5 separate regions of the Homo sapiens genome follow, and all the other regions are linked to region 4. Evidence: promoter capture Hi-C in 16 types of primary human blood cells and fetal thymus (Javierre and others, 2016). All regions are on one chromosome and are shown on one strand. The core of a region is centred on a gene start or on the middle of the fragment in contact, and the rest is flanking DNA. Distances in the headings are between cores, read along the strand shown.

Region 1 (4,596 bases), core at 2,011-4,510, 440 kb after region 4:
AAGTGAAACGTCCTCGCTGACGCATGCATCCCTACTGACAGCACCCTGTCTGAGCTGTATCCATCACACTGACCTCCCTTCCCCTTTTCTCCACCTCACAGAATGGGAAAGCGTTTCTTTCTTTTCCTTCTTCTTCTTCTTCTTTTTTTTTTCTGAGCCCACAGTTGATGAGCTTCAAGGTACAACCTGACACGAACTCCCTAGTGGCAAACCTGTGTGGTTGCCATGGTGCCCTGCAGTGCCATTCAAGGCCTCGCTCCCTATGCAGACCCAGCCTGCAGCTCCTTAGCAAAAAGGCAGAATGCCAATGAGGCTGGAGGTAATGAGAAGCGGGTGTTGAAATCTCATTTCCGCCAACATATTTCCCGTCACTCCTTGACAAGCATTTTACTTTCTTCTATACTCCCCATCAACCCTAGACAGCACAGGTTAACATAAAACCTCTAAAGTTCAGGCTGGCTGAGTGGAAAAGAATATGCAAAGAACCCTGCCAATCCATAAGGCAGAAAATAAGCCCTTGGCATATGGCCGGTGCTCAATAAATACCTGTTAAATGAATGAATAAAAGCAGCTCAGCTATGGTTTAGACCTCCTGAGGGACATTTTCTGAAAAGACATGGTCGGTTTGTTATGATATTTTCTGCCTTCCAAAATGCTTTCACGTGTTATCGCATTTGATCTTTCTGAAAAGAAAAGAAGTCCTGAAAGGAAAACCCAGCCCCTGTCTCCTGACTCACCCCTTTCCCACCTCCTCTAATGGCTCAGCCCCAGCCCCGCCCCCTTCCCTGAACAGGGGTCGTTGGACTTCCGAGAGGAGGCAGAGGGCTCAGACATGCACAAAAGCCCTGTCCCTGCATCAGCTCAGAGGGGACTTGAATGATAAAATATTTATTTGGTGATAAGACCTTGTGTTCCAGATCAAATGTCCACTCTTGCCTGGATTACCTTACAGTAAAGTCAACTTAATGACAGTGTCGGCTGCCTGCTGCCCCCAAATCGCTGGAGGGTCACTCACACCAGCTTGCACAGAAGCCATCCCAGCCTCTCAGTTGGGGAAACAGACCAATCAACAGAGATCCATATCTTCGATAAGCCACGCACCCCATGTACCCGGCCCACATGTGCTGTTCAGGACCACCAGGCTTCAGGCCTTTCTGCTTCCCTTTCCTTCCTCAGTGATAACACCAGTGATGATGGGGTATCTTTCCTCCTCACCCCTTCCTTTCTTTGGTGCCTTGTCTCTGACAGTGGCTGAAAGCCATGTCCCTGCATCCCTGCCCTGCATGATGACAGCTCCCACAGAGGTTCCTTCTCAGAGTTCTAGCTCTTCCTGGTTCTGGTACTGTGATTTCCTTCCTCCTCGTGCCCTGTCTCCATGGGAGGTAATGGTTCCTGACTGAGGCAGCCTCTGGGTACTCAACATTCCTTAGTGGTTCTCTTAACCTTGCCCAAATCTCTGGCAATAATCTCTTTATTAACGTCTTTTTATTTGAACCTTTATGGATAAATTCTATTTTCCTGTAAGGCGGGCCCTGACTGATATATATACTCGGAGATACCCATGTCTGCATCTAATTAGCTGAAAGGGCCAGCCATATCCTCATTCGTCAGCAGGAGCAGAGAGACAGCAGTGCCCGGTGCTCATTCACTCATCTTCGACACAGAGCTTCCACATTCCAAGCAAGTCAAGCTTGCCCTTCCTTCCTCCCTCATCTTTCTAGAGGCAGTGGCCTAGCTGCACATTCTCATAAAGCAGCTCAGCGTGGGCTGCCAGCAATCTAACATCAGGATGGAAGAAAACAGAGGCCTCAGAGGTTCGGCATTTTCTGGAATCTAATGATTCTGCTGATTCTCCTGCGTTTAGCAATAGCCGTTTCAATTTCAGGATGCTTAGATCACTTCTTTGTTCTTTCTGCTGTGTAGCTACAGCATTACCGTGAGTCTGGGGGAATTCCTGTTTGGGGGTAGGCCTTTTTTAAGGTTTTGTTTTGGTTTTTGCCTTGTTCTGAATAAGTCAGGTCCATGTACTTGGTAGAAGGTCAAGTTTGTTTGGGATCGTCTCCTGCAGTGTGTCTACAGCTGACCTCTACTTCAAATGGTGCCTCTCTGTCCCTAGGCTCTGACATAACTCCCTCCTCTTACTTCAGGGTACCTGTCTAAGTCTGGGAGATCCAAAACTTCTCCTTCTCTTTTGTATTTACCTGCCTCCAACTTCCAGGTTGCTGCAACCTTCACTGCCAAGTCACTCAGCAGGTTACTCCGATGCTCATTCATTACCCATTTATTTACTGAAGGTCTGCCATGTGCCAAGGAAAACAACAGTGACCAAATACTTATCCTGGCTCTTCAGGACCTCAGAGTCTCGCGGGGAGGGGAAGACAAGTAAACAAGACGTTTTGGATTCTGCTGCTTCCACGGGGAATTACAGAGGTGAAATGGAAGGGCTTGGGAGTGGGGTCCCTGCCGGGCTCTGCCTCCTGACCATGAGCATTCTAGGCCAGGGATCAGGTTCACAGGTAGCCTATTTTCCACACCTCATAAGAAATGTGTTTCGTAAATAAGTAACCACACCTGAGTTACTATGCAAATAAACTCAGCTCTGTCCTCTGAACAGCCAAGTTCACTTTTCCACTAGCCTTTTCTCTCCTGCTTCTACCTCCTCTATCTTTACCCTGTGCTGCTAATTTCTCAGTCTGTCATTACTGAATGAGACACCCAGCCTGGAACAGAAAGGACAGTTTGAAGGGGGTCTCTACCTGGCATCTGAGCCGAGCTCCTTCTAAGCGCGTGTTTACGATGGCTCCGACTCATGCCTTAAAAAAAAAAAATCGCTACAGAAAATACCAAGACTGATAGCTAAATCCAATTAAATTAAGATTAATAAAAAGGGAGGGAGGCCAGCAGAATGAAGCCAGCAGGAAACCTCTCTTGCTGCAGTGTGCTGCTCCATGCATTTCAAATGCAGCCCAACACAAGTCCTGATTCACCTTCACTTACCCTTACACAGAAGCCTCGCAGACAGGCTAGGCGCAGCTGCAAGATGAGCTGCTAAGAACTTGCTGATTTCAATACAGACTGGTTTCCAAAATGTTCTGGGGTTTTAAAACTTCACTCCCCCAAACACTTCAGGCTATGCCATAACTAATCCCACATCTTGCGTTTAGTTGGGAAAAGAGACTTTGGTATTCTATGTGGGTGAGATAAGAAGCAAAGACTAACTAGGGAATCCGGCATCTCTTTTGTTGCCATTTCCTGTTGTGAAAATCCTTCAAATCAAAATATTATTGAACACTGGAGTTAGAAGGAGTGATGGAGATTACTCGGTTCCATGGCCTTTCCCTGTTTTGGAGAACTAATGGAGGAAACAGGCCTTGACTGAGCTCCTACAAACGAGTGCCTCAGCTAATGAAGGCTGCAGTCCAGTATGCTGTTGACTGCACTACTGCCATGGGGATTCATCCACAAGGTGTTTGCAAAGGACAGAGAAGGAATTCGCAGCCACGAAAGGGAGAATGGAAACTCTCCAAAGAGGAAGAAATCAGCTTGACATTTAGCTTGCCATCTAGTCTGGCTGTCACGAGGCCATGAATCTGCCTGATGAGAGGTAAAAGAGAGAAATGAAGAAGACGAGGAAAGAGGGAGGGAGGAATAAATTTCAAAACAAACAGAATCTGTGGCTCTGCACTCACTCCCTGTACTGGGGTGGCAAAGGGTTGGGTGGGAATGAGGGGAAGGGAAATATGTTCCTGGAGGAAAAGGCTTCTTATGTAAAGGGTGAAGGAAAGACTCAGACCCAAGTAGAAGCCAGGGGAAGCTGCTGTGGTGGACGCTGTGACGCTCCCCAGGTCCCGTTTCATGAATGAAGAGTTTAGTCCCCCACATGGTCGAAAAGCTGCTAGAGCAAGATCCATGGCCATCAGCACTCTTGGGGACTTCCTGGGCTGAAGGAAACTACCCTGCCCAAGTCATGCCTACTTCCAGTGGCAGCCCCCATCCAGTGACTCATCCACAGAAGTCTAAAGGCCTGGCTCCACACACCAACTGGGGATACCTCAGAAGGGCCCTCCCAGCTTCAGTGCATTCCAAGTGGTCAGCTGAGCTCTTTTCTGGGACTACTTCAGAGCTTAGCTTCTCCCTCTGCCCAACCCTGCTTTCTTCTCTTCCCTTCCACAGTGTGGATACGGAGAGCACTTCCTAATGAACAGCCTACACACAAACCTCTGTCTCAGAGTCAGCTTTTCAGGGAGCCCTACCCACAACACTGCTTATGAAGTAAATGTGCAGAGCCCTGCTGAAGGCAGAGAGAAGATTGTCATCTGTTGAGTCTGGTCAGGTAACTCACACCGTGAAGAACATTGCCCAAGTCCTTATTTAGAGAATTAAGTTTGGTGCCACCTTACAGTCAACCACAACATGTGTATTGGGCCATCCAAGCATCAGAGCAGGGGTACTGAAAAGGTGATCCCTTCCCTCACAGAACCTGCCCTTCCTCAACCAATCAGTCAGATATAGGTACAGCCAGTTCTTAAAGACCTTTAAAGAGCACTCCAAACCCACCCTCGGAACTGTCACCCCTTATAAAGTTCATAAACCTTA
Region 2 (4,911 bases), core at 2,248-4,747, 320 kb after region 4:
TAGTTGGGAGGCTGAGGTGGCAGGATCACTTGAGCCCAGAAGATGAGGCTGCAGTGAGCCAAGACTGCACCACTATACTTTAGCCTGGGTGAAAGAGCAAGACCCTGTCTCCAAAATATAAATACATAAATATAAAAGTTTTTTTAAAAAATTTTAAAAATAGCCAGCATGGTGGTGTGCACCTGTAGTCTCAGCTACCTGGGGGGCTGAAGTGGGAGGACTGCTTAAGCCCAGGAGGTCAAGGGTATAGTGAGCCATAATCATGCCACTGCACTCCAGCCTGAGCGACAGAGTAAGACTCTGTCTCAAAAGAAACAAACAAACAAACAAACAAACAAAAAAACTTGCCAGGCATGGTGGCTCATGCCTGTAATCCCAGCACTTTGGGAGGTCCAGGCAGGAGGATTGCTTCAGGCCCCAAGTTTGAGACCAGCCTGGACAAAAGTGAGACCATTGTTTTTTGGTTTTTAGATTTTTAAAAAGAAAATAACTACACATAAAACAAAGCCAATTAATGGACAATAGGTAACATGCTCCTTTTCAGAAATGTTTTTATAACATGGCAAATCCTTTAAGTTTACAATAATATAGCACTAAAATAGCATGTTTTCTAAACACTATTCCATGCAGTTATTTATCAGTGGTTCCACATATACCCATCACTTCATTTTAAAAAGGATTTGAGAGAGTTTGCAAATCACTAAAAAAAAAAAAAAAAAAAAAAAAAGACCACAAATTTGACACTCAGTTGCCCAGGAACCAATCTGAAACATAATTCACCATATCCATGAGGAGTATACTACTTATTCCCAACTTTTAAAAATAAGAAATGGCTTAACCAGAAATTATTCAGAATCACAAAAATGAAAGTGGGGAATGGACAGGGCATGACTTTCTTGTGTTTAGAAGCATCCACTTCCTGGGAACTTGGACTTTATATTAAGAACTGATACCTAATATTTAAACCATATGTCACTCAAAATCTTAAAATTTCTAATACATGCTACTACGCCAATAAAAATGATCATATAATAAATGGCTTCATGATAGTAAAAACTAGTAATTTTTAAGCCCCAACCCATAATCTGTATTTATGAGCAATATTCAATTTTATACAAATTTTCATGGCAATTAAATTTTGGCAGTCTCTGAAACTGATTTAATAAGCACTAATATTCTTTTCTTTGTCTTTACATTCATGGTTTCCAAGTCCTATCAATTCGTCTTTCATACAGCCTCTTCGTAAACTAACTATAAAAACAGATTCACAGCCAATTAAAGAAAGCGTGCTTCTTATACTCTTATATTCCTCCCTTCTATTCCATTTTCACTGAATGAACAAATAATGAAATAGTTCAGGCCCTACTCATCTTTCTCAGAACTACTGTAATAGCTTTCTAAATAATTCATCTGCTTTTCCTTCCCACCTATCTTGAATATTGTCACCAATTTTCTAATACTGCTTTCACGGTGCCTTGCCTCAGTTCAAATAACCTTCAATGGCTGTCTTCCCAAAGCCAAAAGCTCTAATTCGAGAAGGGGTGAAAAACAATAACTTTAGAAACAACAATTAAAAAAAACAATTTTGGTTTCATAATATAAATTACCAAAAGCAAGGGCAACTGGATAGCAGAGCATGGATTAAAGTGGAATGATAAAATCCAAATTCCTTAATTTGGCATTCAGTATCTTTCAGAATCCAGATCTACATATTTTCGGTCTTAATTAACCTTGGTTTAGAACATGTCCAGAGACCAGTTCGAAGTCACCCTTAATTATGTTTGCACTGCTCTCAAATCGATTTCTAGCCAGAGTTTTCTGCGCATATCCTCAAAGCCTAACTTAACCAACCACTAAGCCAAGTATTTTCCCATGAAAAATGGCCCTCAAGTGAGAGGTTTTAGTCTCACTTCAGTTACTGCATTGCGATGGAGATGCTCTGGGCACAACAGCAAACAGTAAAATTACAACTTATTAACAGATGAAAATCAGGGCTTACTCATAAATAACGTAAACAGCAATGTTAAACAGACAAGTGTCAGTGATCTAGAAACCCTCTCTTCCAGGCAGGCTAGTCTATGCTTCTAACCCTGCTCTGCACATTTCTCACCTTTGTCTCACATCAGTCCTCTCAGTAGCCCTGAATCTTCCAAACTTATTTTAGTTCCAAAATCACAATATAATTATTTAATAAGCATATTTTTATTTTTTTAAAAAGCTAAACATTTTTACCATTGCCTGTTAGAGACCCCCAATGATCTGGGTGGGTAAGGCCACCTCTTCACTCTCCCACTAGTTTTTCTCACTAGTCTTACACTAGATTCTCAGACACAAAGAGCTCATTCCTGCCTCAGGGTTTTGCCCTGAAGTTGCTTGGAAATGTTTTCTCTCTGCAGCTCAAATCTCACCTTCTAAGCCTGTCTTAGTGTCACCTAACCTAAAAAAGCCCCCATAAATCCCCATCATTCTCTATGCCATTATCCTGTTTATTTTCCTCATAACACCACTATTCTGGGTTCTTTATTTATGTGCTTATTATCTGTACTCTCCCAAGGGGGAGCATGTGTCTTGCTTATTGCTATACCCTCAAAGCTTAGAATAGATCCTGTCTCTTGGTAGGTAATCAATAATGGGTTGAATTAATGAACAAACTCTTGAATGCATTAAGAAATCCAGACACATTGAAAATGGTTAACTATCCACAACCATAATCACAATGTTCTTACACTTACTAAAAAAACTAAAGTTTCCCAATAGGTATCATCAATATGGAATTAGGGAACTCTGTAGAACAGGCAATATTCTTTCCCCATTGCCTTCCAACCTCAGCATTCCAACACACAAGATTCCAAGAGAGTGCTGTCACCCCCTGAATCCCTAATGTTCAAAGACAGAACTATTTTCTTTGTTCCCATACCAATACAAGATTAGTATGCTTTTGTCAATCATTAAACTTCCTGTGGCCAGGCGCAGTGGCTCATGCCTGTAATCCCAACACTTTGGGAGGCCAAGGTGGGTGGATCACTGGAGGTCAGGAGTTCAAGACCACCAGCCTGGCCAACATGGTAAAATCCCGTCTCTACTAAAAATACAAAAATTAGCCAGGCGTGGTGGCAGGCGCCTGTAATCCCAGCTACTCGGGAGGCTGAGGCAGGAGAATCACTTGAACCTGGGAGGCGGAGGTTGCAGTGAGCCAAGATTGCGTCATTGCACTCCAGCCTGGTGACAAGGGGGAGACTATCTCAAAAAAAAAAAAAAAAAATTCCTGTTTAAAAATATATTTCATATTTTTCTCTTACCTCAGTTTCCCTCAAGTATGTCTTTTTCATAAAGAAAAAGGAAAAGATTGAGTTACTCCTCATCTTCTAAGACCTTTAATATGGCAATTAGTGTTTTGAGTAGTATGGGGGTGAGGAGTCCGTCAACATCAAAATATTACTAAAAAGCATCGCAATTGGCTTATTTTCCCCCATTATGGAGAAGTGAATTGAGAAAAAAAAAAATCAGACTGATTTTCTTTTAAGAAATGAATCACCTCTAACATCCTACAAGGCTATGAAGATTTCCAAGCAGGCAGTTACACTACTTGATTCTTGACCTTTTATACATAAAGGTCCTACTGCTAGTGGGACACTTTCTGTCCCCGAAGTAGCAAGTACTTATGAATGTATCTAATATTATGCATTCTCAATCTCTAACAAACGTGATTTTTTTCGCTTCCAAAATAATTTCCCAAGATGAAAACGGCAATAAAACAACGTGACTAATAATAACATACAATCAGGAACTTAGGTGAATGAAAGAACTTGAAAACTATTTTACAGACCATACATAGTCATGCCTCGCTGAACAGGGGGAACAGGATCTGAGAAATGTATTGTTAGGCAATTCTGTCGTTGTGCAAACCTCACAGTATACTTACAGAAACCTAGATGGTAGAGCCTACTACATACCTATATGTAGGCTATATGGTATAATCAATTGCTCCTAGGCTACTAACCTATACAGGATGTTACTGTAGGCAACTGTAACACAATGGTATTTGTGTAGTGTTTATCTAAACATACCTAAAATAACACTGTACAAAGGATTAAAAGATGGCACACGTGTGCAGGGCACTGGCCATGAACAGAGCTTGCCAGCCTGGAAGCTGCTGTGGACGTGAGTAGTGAGTGAATGTGAAGGCCTAGGACATTACCATGTACTACTGTACAACTTACAGACACTCTACGGTTAGGCTACACTAAATTTATCTTTAGATATATTTTTTCAATAATAAATCAACCTTAGCTTACTGTATCTTTTCTATTTTATAAACTTTTTGGCTCTTTTGTAATAACGTTTAACTTAAAACACAAACACATTTTAAAGCTATAGAAAAGAAATTTTATATTCTTATTCTATAAGCTTTTTTCTATTTTTTTTTTAACTTTTGTTAAAAACTAAGATACAAACGCATTACCCTAGGCCTACACAGGGTCAAGATCAAGACGTCGCTAGGCGGCAGGAATTTTTCAGCTCCATTACAACCTTATGGAGCCACCGTTGCAAATGCGGTCTGTCCTTGACCTAAACGTCGTTATGAGGCACGTGACCGTATTTTGATTCTGTAACCTAAAACATATCCTTCTGAAAAACAGTATTTCTAACCAATATATATGAAAATGTCTGTCTCAAAACATTTCTCTGTGTCTCATGGTAAATCTGCCACGAGTTCAATTAGCCAATTCCTGGCAAGGAATCCACAGGTTTTCCCTTCTTTAGGAATGTCAACCATTTTGCCTTTTATTTTTTTCTGTAAGATTCAATTATGATGCACTAAGAGGCTGGGCCAAGTCCACACTAACAGCAATTCCTCCGACCCTGCAGCTGAAACCCCGGCAGAACTACGCCCCCTCGAACACAATGCCT
Region 3 (4,890 bases), core at 1,098-3,597, 390 kb before region 4:
GTAGAGACGGGGTTTCACTGTGTTAGCCAGGATGGTCTCGATCTCCTGACCTCACGATCTGCCCGCCTTGGCCTCCCAAAGTGCTGGGATTATAGGCGTGAGCCACTGCACCTAGCCCACAATTTCTTTTTTAAATGTTTCTCATAGCTTTTAATAAGTCCTAGACATATGCAAGCTACTTAACAGAGATTGACATAAATATATTTAAAACTAATACCATACCGCTCAAAAGAGAGGCAAATGACTCTAATCCTGTACGGATGCAGGTGAACTTGTCAGTCTGAAAGGATCAAGTTGAGAAAATGCCCTCATTTCTTTAAGCCCTGAGATTGTTCCTGAGGGTAAGTGGTTTTAGGACTTGAAGAGATTGGTGAAGGTTGAAGCAGAAATTAGGGGGAATGATGAGGGAGTTGACTAACCCTCAAGGACATGTGGCAGCATAAGCAGATCAAGTTGATCAATAAAAATAATGGCAAAGCACTTACTAAGCATCGGGCCCTGTTCTCAGTACTCTGCCTGTATTAAATCATCTACACCTCACAACAACCCTAGGTATTTTCCCCATTTTGTGGATGAAAAAAATTGAGGCTCAGAGAGGTTAGATCATTTGCCCAAGTGAACTAGCTAGTTAAGTGGTAAAGCCAGGTTTCAAACACTGACTGCTCCCAGACCCTAAGCTCCTAATCACAGTGTGATGGTTAGGATAAGACCAGATAAGCAGGTGGTGTTTAATACAATGCCTAACAAATGCCTGGTCCCCTAGTGGAAGCTCAATTGCTATTAGTTCCCCCTGCTTTCTGGTTTTCAACCCACTTGCCCCATATTTATTTACTCATCCACTCCTTACTCACCAAACACACACACACACAATGACACATTCACACACACTCCAGTCTTTAACAACGAAGTCCACACTCAGGTATTTAGGTCACTAGGTGTCAAATCTACACATATATTCTTCTTCCTGATAGGATTTCAGGTCACATACATAAAATGAGTCCTAGGACCAACCTCTGCTCTCCCATCACTCTCCAAGGTGAATGTAAACACACACACGAACACTGACTCTGGATTCCAAACATATACGTATGCATAGCCTGATATAAGGCAGAATTCAACTCTGGACTTTTCTTTTTCCGTTATCCAGGGAAATGCGTGAGTTACTATGACAGATGCCAAAGACTTTTGGCTCTGGTAGTGGAAATTGGGAGGCAATGGTGAAATGAAGTAAGAAATTCCAGGGCCAGAAGGTGGATGCAAGTCAGCAACGGCTTTTCCCAGGAGCTTGCTCTTTTTGGGTAAGTGCTACACATACAAGCCCCAACCCGCTGCCTAAGCTACCCTATTCTGAACCCCGCTCAGGCTGCAACAGATGACACACAGCAGGGAGCCTCATTTGCAGGAGATGAGTGTTCCCTTGCTCTATTTTAATCCTGGCAGCCCAGCCGGGGAAGGTTTTGTCAGAAATGGTGGAAAACAGTGACAACCAAGCTTTCTGGAGTAAAGGCTAGGCAGCTCAGGAGCAACCAATCACGACTCGCACAGTATTGTTAACAATACAAGGGAAAACAAGTATCCTTCCCGCCGGCCCGCACTTTTGCAGCCAGCTTGGGCGACCCGTGGCAGCGCTTTGACGACGACCTGCCGGGCTCCGGAGGGCGGGCACGGCGGAGACGGCAGCAGCGCTGCCCCGCAGCTCCGGAAACAGCCCTTCCCCTATCCTCAAGGACCAAATCAGTCCTGATAAACACCCCTCCTGGCCCTACAATGGGAAGGGCAAGTTCAAACGCAGGGCGTCGAGCCCACACGCCTAGAGACGCGGCCAGGCACCCCCGCCCTCCTCGCCGCGCAGTCGCGCACAGTGAGCAACAGTCCAGCACCAACCCGGCTTAACTGCGCCTGCGCACTCCAGGAGTTTCCCCCCACGCCCCTTTCCGAGGACTAGCGCCCGTCGCTTAGCAACGCGCGAGTCACAGTCGCCGCGCTTTGCGCACCCTTTTCCTGGCAGGGCTGCGTCCCTGTTCTTCCCAGGAGGCTCCTCGCTGCCTGGTGCCGTAGAGGCCCATGGAGGAAAAGGAAGATAAGCATCAGTAAGTGCTGGGGTTTGGTGTCTTATTTCCCTTTCCAAAAACTATTTTCCTCCTTCAGGGGGAGGCCGGGATCCAGCATGGACAGTCCAGGCCAAGCTCAGACAGCCCCCTTGCTTCTCTAATTTCCAGTTGGCTGAGCGCTTACAACAATAATTTTTAAAACGCACCGTTTACTGAGCACATACTGTGTGTCAGGGACTTGACTTGCATTACCGGATCTAAAATTCTTGAAGTCATCCACTCCTTCTCACAATTATTAGCAGATTCTGTAGTCTTTACCTTTAAAATTATCCAGAATCTACCACTGCTCATCACTTTCAGTACTGTGCCCACCCAGTCCCAAGTACCAGCTTCTCTTGCCGGGATGCTGCAACAGCCCTCCAGTTGGTGGCTTTGCTTTTCCCTTACCCCTCTGCAGCCTCCTCGACACAGCAGTCAGAGCTATCCGTTTACAGCCCAGGTTAGATCGCCGTTCTCCATCCGACATCGTAGAGTAAAAGCCAAGGCACCTCCAATGGCCTATGGAGTCTACACAACACGCCCCTTACCGTTTCTTGCCTCCCTCTGACAGGACTCTGCTACAGCAAACAGGCCTTTCTGCTATCATCTGCAGTGATAAAGACCAGCATCAGCAGCACCTGGTTGTTAGGAATGCAAATTTTGGGGACTTCCCACCCCCGAGACACACAGAATCAGAAACTCTATGGCTGGGGCTCAATAATCTGGCTTCAACCAAGGCATCCAGGTGATTCTGATGTACCTTAAATTGAGACTATTAATCAAGGTAGTACATACAGCTAGTTAGGAATGATGTGGAGCCAGGGATACCCTCTTCCAAAGCCTGTATTTTTGTCCCTGGAACAATGGTTCTCACACTTGAACGTGCATAAGAATCAGCGAAACAGCTGGTTAAAACACGTTCCTGGGAACCAGCCCCAGAGATTCTGAGTTTGCAGTGCTTTCTAAAAACAAGTAAACAAAAAACTAGGTACATAAAGGAAATGGGCCCCATAAATTTGTATTTCTAACAAGGTCACAATTGATGCCAATGCTGCTACTCCAGTGCCCATACTTTTAGAAGCAGTGCGCTAAGGATGGTTACACTTCTGCTGGGAAGCTTTGGCAGTTACAGTTCACTCTGCTAGAATGCTTTTCCCACAAATATGCACTTAGCTCTCTCTTCCCCTCTTTTTTCATTTGCCACCTTCACAATGCAGCCTCCACCCTACCTGAAAATGCAAACCTACCTCCTACATACATACACTCCCTTTTCCCATTCTCTATTTTATTATTGTCCTTAGCACTTAACAGACTATATAATTTACTTTTTCATCCGCCTTTCCCCATTAGAGTGTAAGCTCTATGAGGGCAGGAATTTTTGTTTTGTCACTGCTTTATCATCAGTGCCTCCAACAGCACCTGGCACGCAACTCAATAAATATCTGTTGAAACAATGAATTATTCAATGTTATTCTCATATCTCTTACAATAGGTATTGTTCCTATCATGCAAATGAGACAAAGGCTCAGATATGGCAGAACTGGGATTCCAGTCCCTGTCTGACTCACTTCAGAGCCCATCAGTGTTTTTATCTGTGCTTTTCTTCTGGCAAGAGATTGCTCGAGTCATATATTTCACACTTATTTATCAACCCGTAGGCATTCATACCACAAGTGCTTAATCAAATGAATTTAACTATATAACAAATAGCCCCAGTCCTTTTCTTCAAGGACTTGATCACTACAAGTGTATATTGTTGGGTGATAACTATGAGAAACAGGTGGAAAAAACTGATGCCAGAAGCCTACAATAATAAATTAATTGACCCCAAAGACTCTACCTTTAAATAAATAATTGTATCTCTGGAAAGGTAATAGAAAAAGGTTTAGAAGTTTTTTACACTTTACCAGTAATCAGTTTTTCCAAATCCTTTGCAGAAAGTAATTTTTGGGAAGCAGGGAACTAGAATCCAAGGATTCTGAATGTTGTTTTTATGTGTACTGGAGGGGTGGTTGAGGGTATTCAAACAAAGCTGGAGTAAACTCCAGCAGATTCACCAGAAATATGTAAATGTTATAATGGCAGTCCATTTACCTTGGATGAACAGGACACTTTTCCTGATGTTGGGCACATGGTGAATTCAACAATGTACACCTTCATGGAACTTATTGACTAGTAAAGGATATTTGTAGTGCTTACTAAAAACAAGTAAACAAAAAACTAGGTACATAAAAAATTGTGGTGTTAATAAAAGAAATGAACAAAGTACTAAAATAGAGAATACATGTGGTAGAGGAAAGAAATCTAGGAAAAGCTGCTGAGGAGATGGTTTTAAGCTGAGACCTAAATATCCTGAGCCAGCTGTGCTGGGAGCTGGGGAAGAGCTGTCCAGGCAGAGCGAACAGCATGTGCAGGTGCCGTGAGGGAAAAGAGATTGATGTGTCCCTGGAACTGACAGAAGGCAGTCTGGTTGGAGGGTCTTGAGTGAAGTCGAAGAGGTTCACTGGGGCAAGTCACACAGGACCTCAGAGCTACAATTAGGAGGCAGTATTTTATTGTAAATGAATGGAAAACTACTTGAGGGTTTTAACTGCAAAATGATGTGGGCGAGGCACAGTGGTTCACGCCTGTAATCCCACCACTTTGGGAGGCCGAGGCTGGCAGATCACCTGAGGTCAGGAGTTAAAGACCACCCTGGCCAACATGACGAAACCCTGTCTCTACTAAAAAAAAATACAAAAATTAGCCGGGCGTGGTGGTGCGCGCCTGTAACCCCAGCTACTCAGGAGGCTGAGGCAGG
Region 4 (4,440 bases), core at 387-2,886:
ATCTGGAAAAACTCTTCCTCTTCTGAATTCTTATATAGAACTTACTGGCCAGGCACAGTGGCTCATGCCTGTAATCCCAGCAATTTGGGAAGCCGAGGCGGGCAGAACACCTGAGGTCGGGAGTTGGAGACCAGCCTGGCCAACAGGGCGAAACCCTGTCTCTACTAAAAATACAAAAATTAGCTGGGCGTGGTGGTGCGTATCTGTAATCCCAGCTACACAGGAGGCTGAGGCAGGATAATCGTTTGAACCCAGGAGGCGGAGGTTGCAGTGAGCCAAGATCACGATATTCTAGCCTGGGCAACGGCCTGTTTTGTCTCAAAACAAAACAAAACAAAAAGAACAACAAAAACTTACTGTCTTTATATAATTCATTTGGCACTGTTTTATGGCACGACATCATTGATCAACTATATTTTTGCTTCTATCTCAAACCTTTCTCAGGCCGTGTTTTTGTTTTTGGCAGTGTTCTTGTTGCCTAGCACAGTGCCATCTCACTTATTTGTTGATTCTGTTTCCTTAAAAACAAAGATGAGACCAATTCAAATCCTCATTACTGCGGGCAGCAACAAATCATCCAAACTCTGGCACTTCCAGTTCTTTCGAGCTTTCCTACCAGGTCGGAGGGTTGTCTTAAAACTTGAGGGAGATGAACTGAGTAAGCGATTACACTGAAAGCATGGGAGGGAAAGGACGTTCCAAACGTCCAATCCATCATCCTTTTGCAGCCTCTTAGTCACTGGGATTTTGAAATCTCTTTCCAAAGACTAGCTATGGCCCTAAATTGGAAATAGGCTACTTGAGAACACAGTGGATTCATAGTTCATCTCGGGCAGTTTTAGGAGAAATGCCACCAGCTTCTGCGTTTGAAGGCCAAGGTTAGCTGTTCATGGCGTGAGCACCTTCCTGCTTCCAACCTCCGGTTATCTGTAAATACCCAAGTCCTCTAATTTAGGACGCAGGTCATGGGAAGACGCTGGTTCTTAGGGCAGAAGTGAGCTCACATTCCCAGCATTTTTCTTAAACTTGGCAGAACTGCACTTTAACAAATTAAAATCCATGTGAATGAAAAGGAAAACTTAAGTAGGAAACAAACTTAAGCTTGAGTCAGTTACAGCATGGTGAGGATGTCGGTTACAGCAACACTCAGAGACCGATGAAGGAGAAATTCCAGTGGTGGGCTGGGAGACCGTCTCCATTCCAACTCCACCGCTTTTCTCTACAGAGACCCACGCACGCCAGCTCCCGCCTCAGTCACAAGGGAACGCCCGCGTGGGCAGGCAATCGTCCTTGGTGAGCCGGGATCTCCTCACCCCGAGAGCCGCAGGCTCCGCTGACGCCGGTACAGGTCTCGCTGCGACTCCCTCTGGGCGCGCGGAATCCTGGGACTTGTGGTCCCTTCCGCGCGCTGTCCGCCCTAACCGGCGCAGAGAGGACTACACTTCCCAGGATGCGTCGGGGGAAGAGGCCACAGGGACAGGCAGAGGGAGGGGGCGGCCCCAGTCCTCCGGGGCGTCGCTGTTTCCAAGCGGCGAGATCTCGCCTAGTAACCGGCAGCTGAGGTTCACTAGCGCGGCGTTGTGGCCCCGCCCCCGGAGCCCCGGCTGGAGGAAGAACCTGTCTCCCGCGGCGCCCCAGTGACGAAGTCCATCCCCGGGTGCGGGAGGCGGGGAGGGGAGGGCAGGCAGAGGATTTCGCTCGCTCGCCCGCGCGGGATCCGGGACGCGCCGGTGGCGTCCGCTGGCAGCAGAGGTTAGAGGCAGAGAGCGCGCGGATGCTCCGCGGGCGAGGCTGGTTCGAGAGTGGGAGGAGTGCAGGGCGCCGCCAGGGCGGCAGTGCGCGCGGGCCGAACAGTCCTGAGGGCGGGCATCCCTCGCGCAGCGCGCCGACCCCCGGGACGTGTGCGTCTGTGGGGGGTTGCTGTCCCCCGGGTCCCTCGGGCGACCCCTCTCCACGCTGGGCTCAGGGCAGGACCCGGGATTCCGTGGGACCCGGTGTTTAGCGCAGAGGTTTCTGGGGAGAAGTACACGATTTTTGCCACTTGTTATTTGATTTCTCCTCGACCAGGAGCGTTTGTAGGTAGCGCACTCCCTCCGACTGCACTAGTGCCTCGTTTCTTCCGAGTAAGACAATCTTTCATGATGCGGATTGGAGTTGCTGATCAATGAGAGCTGCTAAGTTCTTTATGGCTTTCTCGGTGAAGAGAAGGTTCACGGAGGATATGATTATTAAACACACACATGAAAACTAATTGGAGCATCTAAAAAATGACCATTGCATATTCGCCCTCGCTTATTAGGGAAACAGCAAGCGTTCCTTCAAATCGCATCAGCAACTGCCAGGCAGCAGCATTTACGCATATTTCATATCATTAAGGAGATGGAACTGGAGAGAGAAAGCGGGAGTAGGGGACAATTTTTAAAAATACCCAACTTGGTTTAGTTTGGGGATAATTTTCTTGGATTGGGTGACTTATGCGAAAAATCTGTTTCTTTCTTCCTCGCTCTCGCTTCCTGGATATAGACTGTCAATTTCGGATCCAAAGACGGCGATGGCAGAGCTCACCCGGGTTGCCTGTCAAATCAAGGCTATCGCAGAATAAATCCCGCCGCCTGCCGCGAAGCCCCGGCGCACCGCAAACTTCAGTGAGCGAACTGGGTGATCGCTGTTGGGATATGCAGATTCCTGATGTAAAAGGCGGGGTGGCCCCCCCGAGAGCCTCTCCCGGGGGCCGGAGCCCGCAGGTGCAGTGAGGCGCGCGCGCCGGTGCCGGCGCCCCCAGAGCCGCCTTGCCCGGGTAGAGGGAGCCCGGCGCCCGGCGGGGTCTGGCGGCCGCACACCGGCGGCGGCGGCTTGTCTGCGGCGGCTGCAGCGGATGATGGTGGCGGCCGGCCCGCTGGGCTGTGCCTGTGTGTCGCCGCGGAAATCAGCGCCCTGCGCCGCGCGCTGAGCCCCTGCAGGTCCGCCGCAGCCCCAGCCTCGGCGAGGACGGCCCCGGCGCGCGGGGGGGCGGGGGGCGCGCGGGGTCGGCTTATCATGGCGGATCGGACGGCGCCCCGCTGCCAGCTCCGGCTGGAGTGGGTGTACGGGTACCGGGGTCACCAGTGCCGCAACAACCTGTACTACACGGCAGGCAAGGAGGTGGTCTACTTTGTGGCTGGGGTCGGGGTGGTTTACAACACCCGCGAGCACAGCCAAAAATTCTTCCTGGGACACAACGACGACATTATCAGGTAAGGGGGTGGCCAGGGGCGGCGGGGAGGGGTTGCGTGTGGAGGCTGGGAAGGTGGGAAGCGGTTGACCTGGGGTCGGATCCGGGAGCCCCGTGGAATAGAGGATTCTCTCTGGAGCCGCATGGAATTACTGAAGGGCTGCTGATTCTAGGGCCAGGGCAGAAACAGTGTGGGGAGTGTAGGTGAGGAGGGAGAGATGTCTTTTCGCTGTATCCCTCCGGAATTCTGGCTTTTAAATCTCCAAGGAGTTGAGTGTTCTGATGCTTTCTTGCTGTTCTTTCCTGCTACAAGTGGAAGGAGCCTGGGTAACTATGAAACACTTCTTCCTTCCCTAACCAGGTGCACGGTAGGACCAATAACCTGAAGTGTGGGCATCATCTTTGGGAGGCTCCTCAGTGGGTTTCTCAGTAAGCAAGAGGATTAAAAAAGATCTAAAAGAAATTTTACTACTGGTAATTTGGAATCTTCATCTCAGATGCTTTGGACCTGGGAAATTTCTGCAGTGGGTGGGGAGTTTGTTCTCTAATATTTCACTTGGCAGTGTTTTAATGCCCAAAGCATATTTATACACTAAATGGATGCTTCCACAGCATCATTGAGGTTATTAAAGGCTGGCAGCTGCTGGATCACAAAATCCTACCAGCCAGCCCACACAATGACCAACATCTGCTAGCGGATGGCCCAAGACTGACTGACAGGAGAGCTCATTTGGATGAATGGCCGTTTTAGGGGCCCTCCCGATTAAATGGAAAGGGGTTATATTGTGATTCTTGGCCCTATCCTCTCATCTTTGGACCAGACACATTTTCCTCCAGCCCTTGTCAGCTTTTATGTGAGCAAACAAGGTATGGGCCAGATGCTGTTCACAGGGAATCCTTTTCAGCCTTCAGCAGTTAAGGAAGATTTTCGTCATATGGGAGCCTCAGCCCACAGGGAAAATGACTTGCTGAGGATGGACTACAACTGACAGAGACCATATTTATACCTTCCAAACTTGTGTGTTTCATTGATGTAGAACAACTACCATTACATTCTCAGAATATTGCCACTTTTGCTCTAAGTTTGTCTTTCACAATGAAATAAATGAAGTGATGTCATGTCCATGCTCCTAATTTCTCAGTGCAGAGAATGATTTCAAAGATCAGCTTTTTTTTCCCTTCCTAATGATGTGCTTATATTCCAGAGCCTTTTTTTTTTCTGAGACCTA
Region 5 (4,783 bases), core at 1,281-3,780, 460 kb after region 4:
CCTCTGCCTCCCTGGTTCACACGATTCTCCTGCCTCAGCTTCCTGAGTAGCAGGGACTACAGCCGTGCGCCACCATGCCTGGCTAATTTTTGTATTTTTAGTAGAGATGGGGTTTCACCATGTTGGCTAGGCTGGTCTTGAACTCCTGACCTCAAGTCATCTGCCCACCTCGGACTCCCAAAATGCTGGGATTACAGGTGTGAGCTGCTGCACCTGGCCACCACGTCTGGCTAATTTTTGTATTTTCAGTAGAGACAGGGTTTCACCATGTTGGCCAAGATGGTCTTGAATTCCTGACCTCAAGCGATCCTCCCACCTCTACCTCCCAAAGTGTTGGGATTAGAGGCATGAGCCACCACACCCGACCACTAAACACTTTCTGATTAATTGCAATAGGGACCTGAAGTAAATGTTCAAGTAACATATTGATAAAGCTATTAATATTTTTAGAACAAACAACTTTATTAACGAAATGTCAAAATTAAGTTAAAAGCTTAACTTTGCTTACCTTTCCTGTGTAACCCAATTGGTAACTAAATCTAACCGTTTTTCTGATAATCCACATTTGATTCCTTCCAGGGTTAGAGCTGCATCAACAGGACATGGAAAAGCATGACTTGTGATAAAGAGGGCCTCAAAAAATAAGAGTAATGGAAGAGGCTTTCCTCTAATTTTTCCAACAGCTACAGAAAGGAGAAAATTTTCTGAGTCAAATACTTTAAGAAATAGTTTGCTTTTTCTTATCTCATATTACTATTTTTGTGCCTTTGCTTTTCTAAAACTTTAACAATCTAAAATTACACATTTATAATTTTTAACTCATGCTTATAGATTAAACTTTATCTAAATGACTAAATATCACGTGCCATGTGAAGATGGAGGCAGAGATTGGAATGATCTGCTACAAGCCAAGGGAGGCTAAAAATCGCTGACAACCACCAGAAGCTAGGAGAGAGGCATGGAATGGAATCTCCCTTAGAGCCTCCAGAAGGAATGAACCCTTGACACCATGATTTCAGAGCTCTGGCCTCCAGAACTGTGAGCGAATATATTTTTCTTTTAAGTAATAGGGTTCTGCTGTTAATGAGGCCAATTTGCTATGACCGAAGAGAACAAAAGGTGCAGCTGCAGATACACAGAGGATAAAATTCCTAATGCAAACTATCCTGCTTTAATGACCAATCAAATGAGGCAAATATAAAACTGGACATTTAAAGGAATATACTTAGTCTAACATACCCTAACTTTGAAAATAATTCAATGAGGATGACAAATTAGGATCCTGAAATTTACATGTAGATTCAGCCAGTGACCAAAAAAGTATGTCAATCCCAAATCAGCATGACTACAATTCATTTTTTATTAAGCTGTATGTACACTCAATGCTTGAACTTGCAGGGGAGGAAGACTGTCAATTTGAACTCTTAATTAATCCATCAGATTATTTTCCTTTTTGTGAGCAGAAAATAAATTTACCACCATATCTTATTTCCTAGATTTTTCTTTAATTCTCCTCCTCAAAGTCAAGTGAGACAGTTTAGAGAGAACTACTGGATATGGATGTCTTGGAATTTAGAGAACAAAAAGACCAGAGCCTGATATTTGCCTGGAAAGTTTAAAGGTGAAAGGCTAGAGTGAGTAAAGAGAATTAAAGTACGAGCAAATTCTACTTTCACAAGATTGCATGTTCCTTAAGGGTGAAGGAGATTCCATGAAAGGCGGGTAGGCTGGTTGTCTTGAAAAGGCTCTCTCAGAGAGGTCTGCATGCAGACCAGATAACCCCACCTGAGAGAGTCTTTGGGGGTACACACCACCAGAATCATTAGCAGCCAGCTAAAGTAATACCTCCTGAATCAATAAAAGGCACAATGGAAAGTCCCCAGTGAGGGAAGGCCCTAAAAAACAAAGACTAAAGCAGTAAACTAGGAGGCAACATTGGGCATCTACCACACCCAAGAAACATCAAAGCCTAATGACCACTGCACCAGTTGAGTAAGACCTTTCCTGTCCCTTATATAACCCCACTGTAAAGCTGCCTAGTGATTAGAAGAGGAGAGAGTAGCAGAGTAAAGAAGAAGCAAACATGTCTCCTGAGCCTCAATAGGTTCTAGAGCCAAATCAGAGCCTAACCAGGGTAAGGGGAAAAATTTTAGATTAAACAAGAGATTGCAGTTTCTATTTAGTTTAGACTAGACTTTTGGGTACCTAAAAATAAAACTATTAATATCTAAAAGCGAGTGAAAAAAAGCTATGTGACATGACCAAGATATTATCCAGTAAAAGAAATAGGAACGCCAACACAGCCCTTTTAAAGGGCAATGGCGAGGAAGAATAAAGTTGTTTCTTGCTTTGTACTCTGTCAAGTCTAGCTTGAACTTTAGACTCTATCAAGTCTAACTGATCTATGATCCAGTTTCATAGATCAAAGCTTGGTAAAACCAGGTATGAAATAAAAAATAGATTCTGCGTCCGATTGAGGGTCTACTAATGAAATGTATGGATTTTCACAAGATAATATATAATACCTATTTTTTATTGTTCACAGACTTTTTAAACTTACTTCTCAACTCTCAGATATACTGTATTGTAAAGAAAATTAATTCTGAATAAGTGGCATGGTGCTAAAAACCCCTAAAGCTTGTATAGTGCTTTGAAATTATCAGCTGGTCTTAACCAATAACCCTAACAAGGTGGGTATCATTAACATTCCTAGTTTTCTTTTCTTTATTTCTTTTTTTGAGATGGAGTCTCGCTCCGTCGCCAGGCTGGAGTGCAATGGTGCGATCTCGGCTCACTGCAACCTCTGCCTCCCAGGTTCAAGCAATTCTCTTGCCTCAGCCTCCCATTTAGATGGGACTACAGGTGCGTGCTACCACGCCCGGCTAATTTTTGTATTTTTAGTAGAGACAGGGTGTCACCATGTTGGCCAGGATGGTCTCGATCTCTTGACCTCGTGATCCGCCTGCCTTGGCCACCCAAAGTGCTGGGATTACAGGCGTGAGCTACCATGCTCGGCCTGTTTTCTCTCTTTTCTTTCTTTCTTTATTTTTTTTTTTTTTTTCGAGACAGGGTCTCACTGTGTTGCCCAGGCTGGAGTGCAGTGGCACGATCACGGCTCACTGTAATCTTAACTTCCCAGGCTCAGGTGATCCTCCCACTTCAGCCTCCTGGGTAGCTGGGACTATAGTAATGTGCCACCACGGCCGGCTAATTTTTTGTATTTTTTGCAGTGACAGAGTTTCACCAGTTGCCCAGGCTGGTCTTGAACTTCTGGGCCAAGCAATCTGCCTGCCTCAGCCTCCCAAAGTGTTGCTATTACAGGCATGAGCCACCACACCTGGCCAACATTCCTGTTTTTCAAGTAATAAAACTGAGTTTCAAGTAGATAAAGTAGCTTGCTCAAAGAACACAATGCAAGTGTATAGTAAAGATAACATTGAAACAAAGATATTGTGCCTCCTATCCAACATTTTATAACATTCTATCTTCTTCATGTTTTGTGATAAGTTAAATATATATACATTTACACACACATATGATGGCAGAAGATGAAAGATTTCTTAGGCCAGGCGCGGTGGCTCACACCTGTAATCCCAGCACTTTGGGAGGCTAATGCAGGTGGATCACAGGGTCAGGAGTTCGAGACCAGTCTAACCAACAGGGTGAAACCCTGTCTCTACTAAAAATACAAAAATTAGCCAGGTGTGGTGGCACCTGCCTTTAATCTCACCTACTCAGGAGGCTGAGGCAGGAGAATCGCTTGAACCCAGGAAGCGGAGGTTGCAGTGAGCTGAGATCGTGCCACTGCACTCCAGCCTGGGTGACAGACTGAGACTCCATCTCAAAAAAAAAAACAAAACACACACACACACACACACACACACACACACACACACACACAAAGATTTCCTATACCTACTATAGATTAACAAGATTCACGACAATTCAATTAGACTTTCAGGTAAAGACGGTAGACTGAACACACACATTCAATTTTAGTTCATTAAAATCATTAAAATAATGGTAAAGGGATTTCATAAGAATAAATTTAAAAGGAAATAACAAAATTCTGAAAGCCAGAAAATAGAGAGTAGAAACTAGCATAGCAGACGCAGAGCCTTAAAAGTTTGATTCCTAAACTACCAATAAGGAAAACCAAGAAGAAGCTATCCAATTCACACCAAACAACACAGAAAGTCTCAGGAATTGCCAGCACCGGGAACCTCTGTAATGAGATGGGCTAAAACTAGAAATCATGGCTGAAAGGCTATTTAAAAAGCTATTCCTCACCCAGTCAGATGATACCCCCTTCCAGGACCTAGAAAAAGCTGAGGCTTATTCTCTGAAAAAGATAAAACAAAAGGTGTCTACATGAAGACAACAGGCACAGTTGAGGGTAGAAATACCAAACTATTAATATGCCTTTTTTGAATTTCCAGAGAACTTTCTTCATATCACTAGAATCACTCTACATGTAAGCTCCGTGATGCAAATCATTTTTGCAGGTTTCATTTTCTGCTGTATCCCCAGCACCTAGAACAATGCCCAGCACATATTAGATAATCAATTTTGTTGAATGAAGAGTAAATGAATAAACAAATGAATGAGCTGGCTCCACACTTGTCTGCCTCTTTATCTCTCTTCCCAATTAGTCCTTTATCTCATTGAAAGGATTGGGTCTTACTAATCTTTGTATCTTAGTACCTAGGTCATAACAGTTTAATCTACAGTTAAAAACAGTCTATTTATTAAAATTTTCTGAAAATGTTATAGGAAAATACTG

The links. The method cuts DNA at HindIII sites, captures the fragments that hold promoters and counts their contacts. A CHiCAGO score of 5 or more calls a contact.
Region 1: a contact is called between a fragment that was not itself captured here and the fragment with the promoter of EML6 in region 4, in 1 of 17 cell types (naive B cells). The highest score is 5.3, in naive B cells.
Region 2: a fragment that was not itself captured here is called in contact with the fragment with the promoter of EML6 in region 4 in 1 of 17 cell types (fetal thymus); the score reaches 5.3 in fetal thymus.
Region 3: a contact is called between a fragment that was not itself captured here and the fragment with the promoter of EML6 in region 4, in 1 of 17 cell types (fetal thymus). The highest score is 5.2, in fetal thymus.
Region 5: a contact is called between a fragment that was not itself captured here and the fragment with the promoter of EML6 in region 4, in 1 of 17 cell types (M2 macrophages). The highest score is 6.2, in M2 macrophages.

Annotation. Positions count from the first base shown.
Region 1 is chr2:55,161,733-55,166,328 of GRCh38, forward strand. No RefSeq gene overlaps it. Among named protein-coding and RNA genes, the nearest start is that of CLHC1, 68 kb to the right of the region's middle. The HindIII fragment of the contact is 3,144 bases long and covers 1,689-4,596 here.
Region 2 is chr2:55,044,084-55,048,994 of GRCh38, forward strand. All of the region lies in intron 1 of RTN4 (reticulon 4), which reads right to left. Among named protein-coding and RNA genes, the nearest start is that of RTN4, 3.9 kb to the right of the region's middle. The HindIII fragment of the contact is 1,815 bases long and covers 2,591-4,405 here.
Region 3 is chr2:54,328,912-54,333,801 of GRCh38, forward strand. It overlaps CIMIP6 (ciliary microtubule inner protein 6), which reads left to right and starts at 1,973. Exons shown (of 5, transcript NM_001100396.2): 1 at 1,973-2,090. The coding sequence starts at 2,065. The HindIII fragment of the contact is 1,716 bases long and covers 1,490-3,205 here.
Region 4 is chr2:54,722,026-54,726,465 of GRCh38, forward strand. It overlaps EML6 (EMAP like 6), which reads left to right and starts at 1,637. Exons shown (of 42, transcript NM_001039753.4): 1 at 1,637-1,752; 2 at 2,524-3,233. The coding sequence starts at 3,037. RefSeq lists an enhancer at 1,170-1,389 and silencers at 1,530-2,019, 2,691-2,840. The HindIII fragment of the contact is 5,681 bases long and covers 1,100-4,440 here.
Region 5 is chr2:55,181,062-55,185,844 of GRCh38, forward strand. CLHC1 (clathrin heavy chain linker domain containing 1) reads right to left here. Exons shown (of 13, transcript NM_152385.4): 10 at 509-683. Among named protein-coding and RNA genes, the nearest start is that of CLHC1, 49 kb to the right of the region's middle. The HindIII fragment of the contact is 209 bases long and covers 2,427-2,635 here.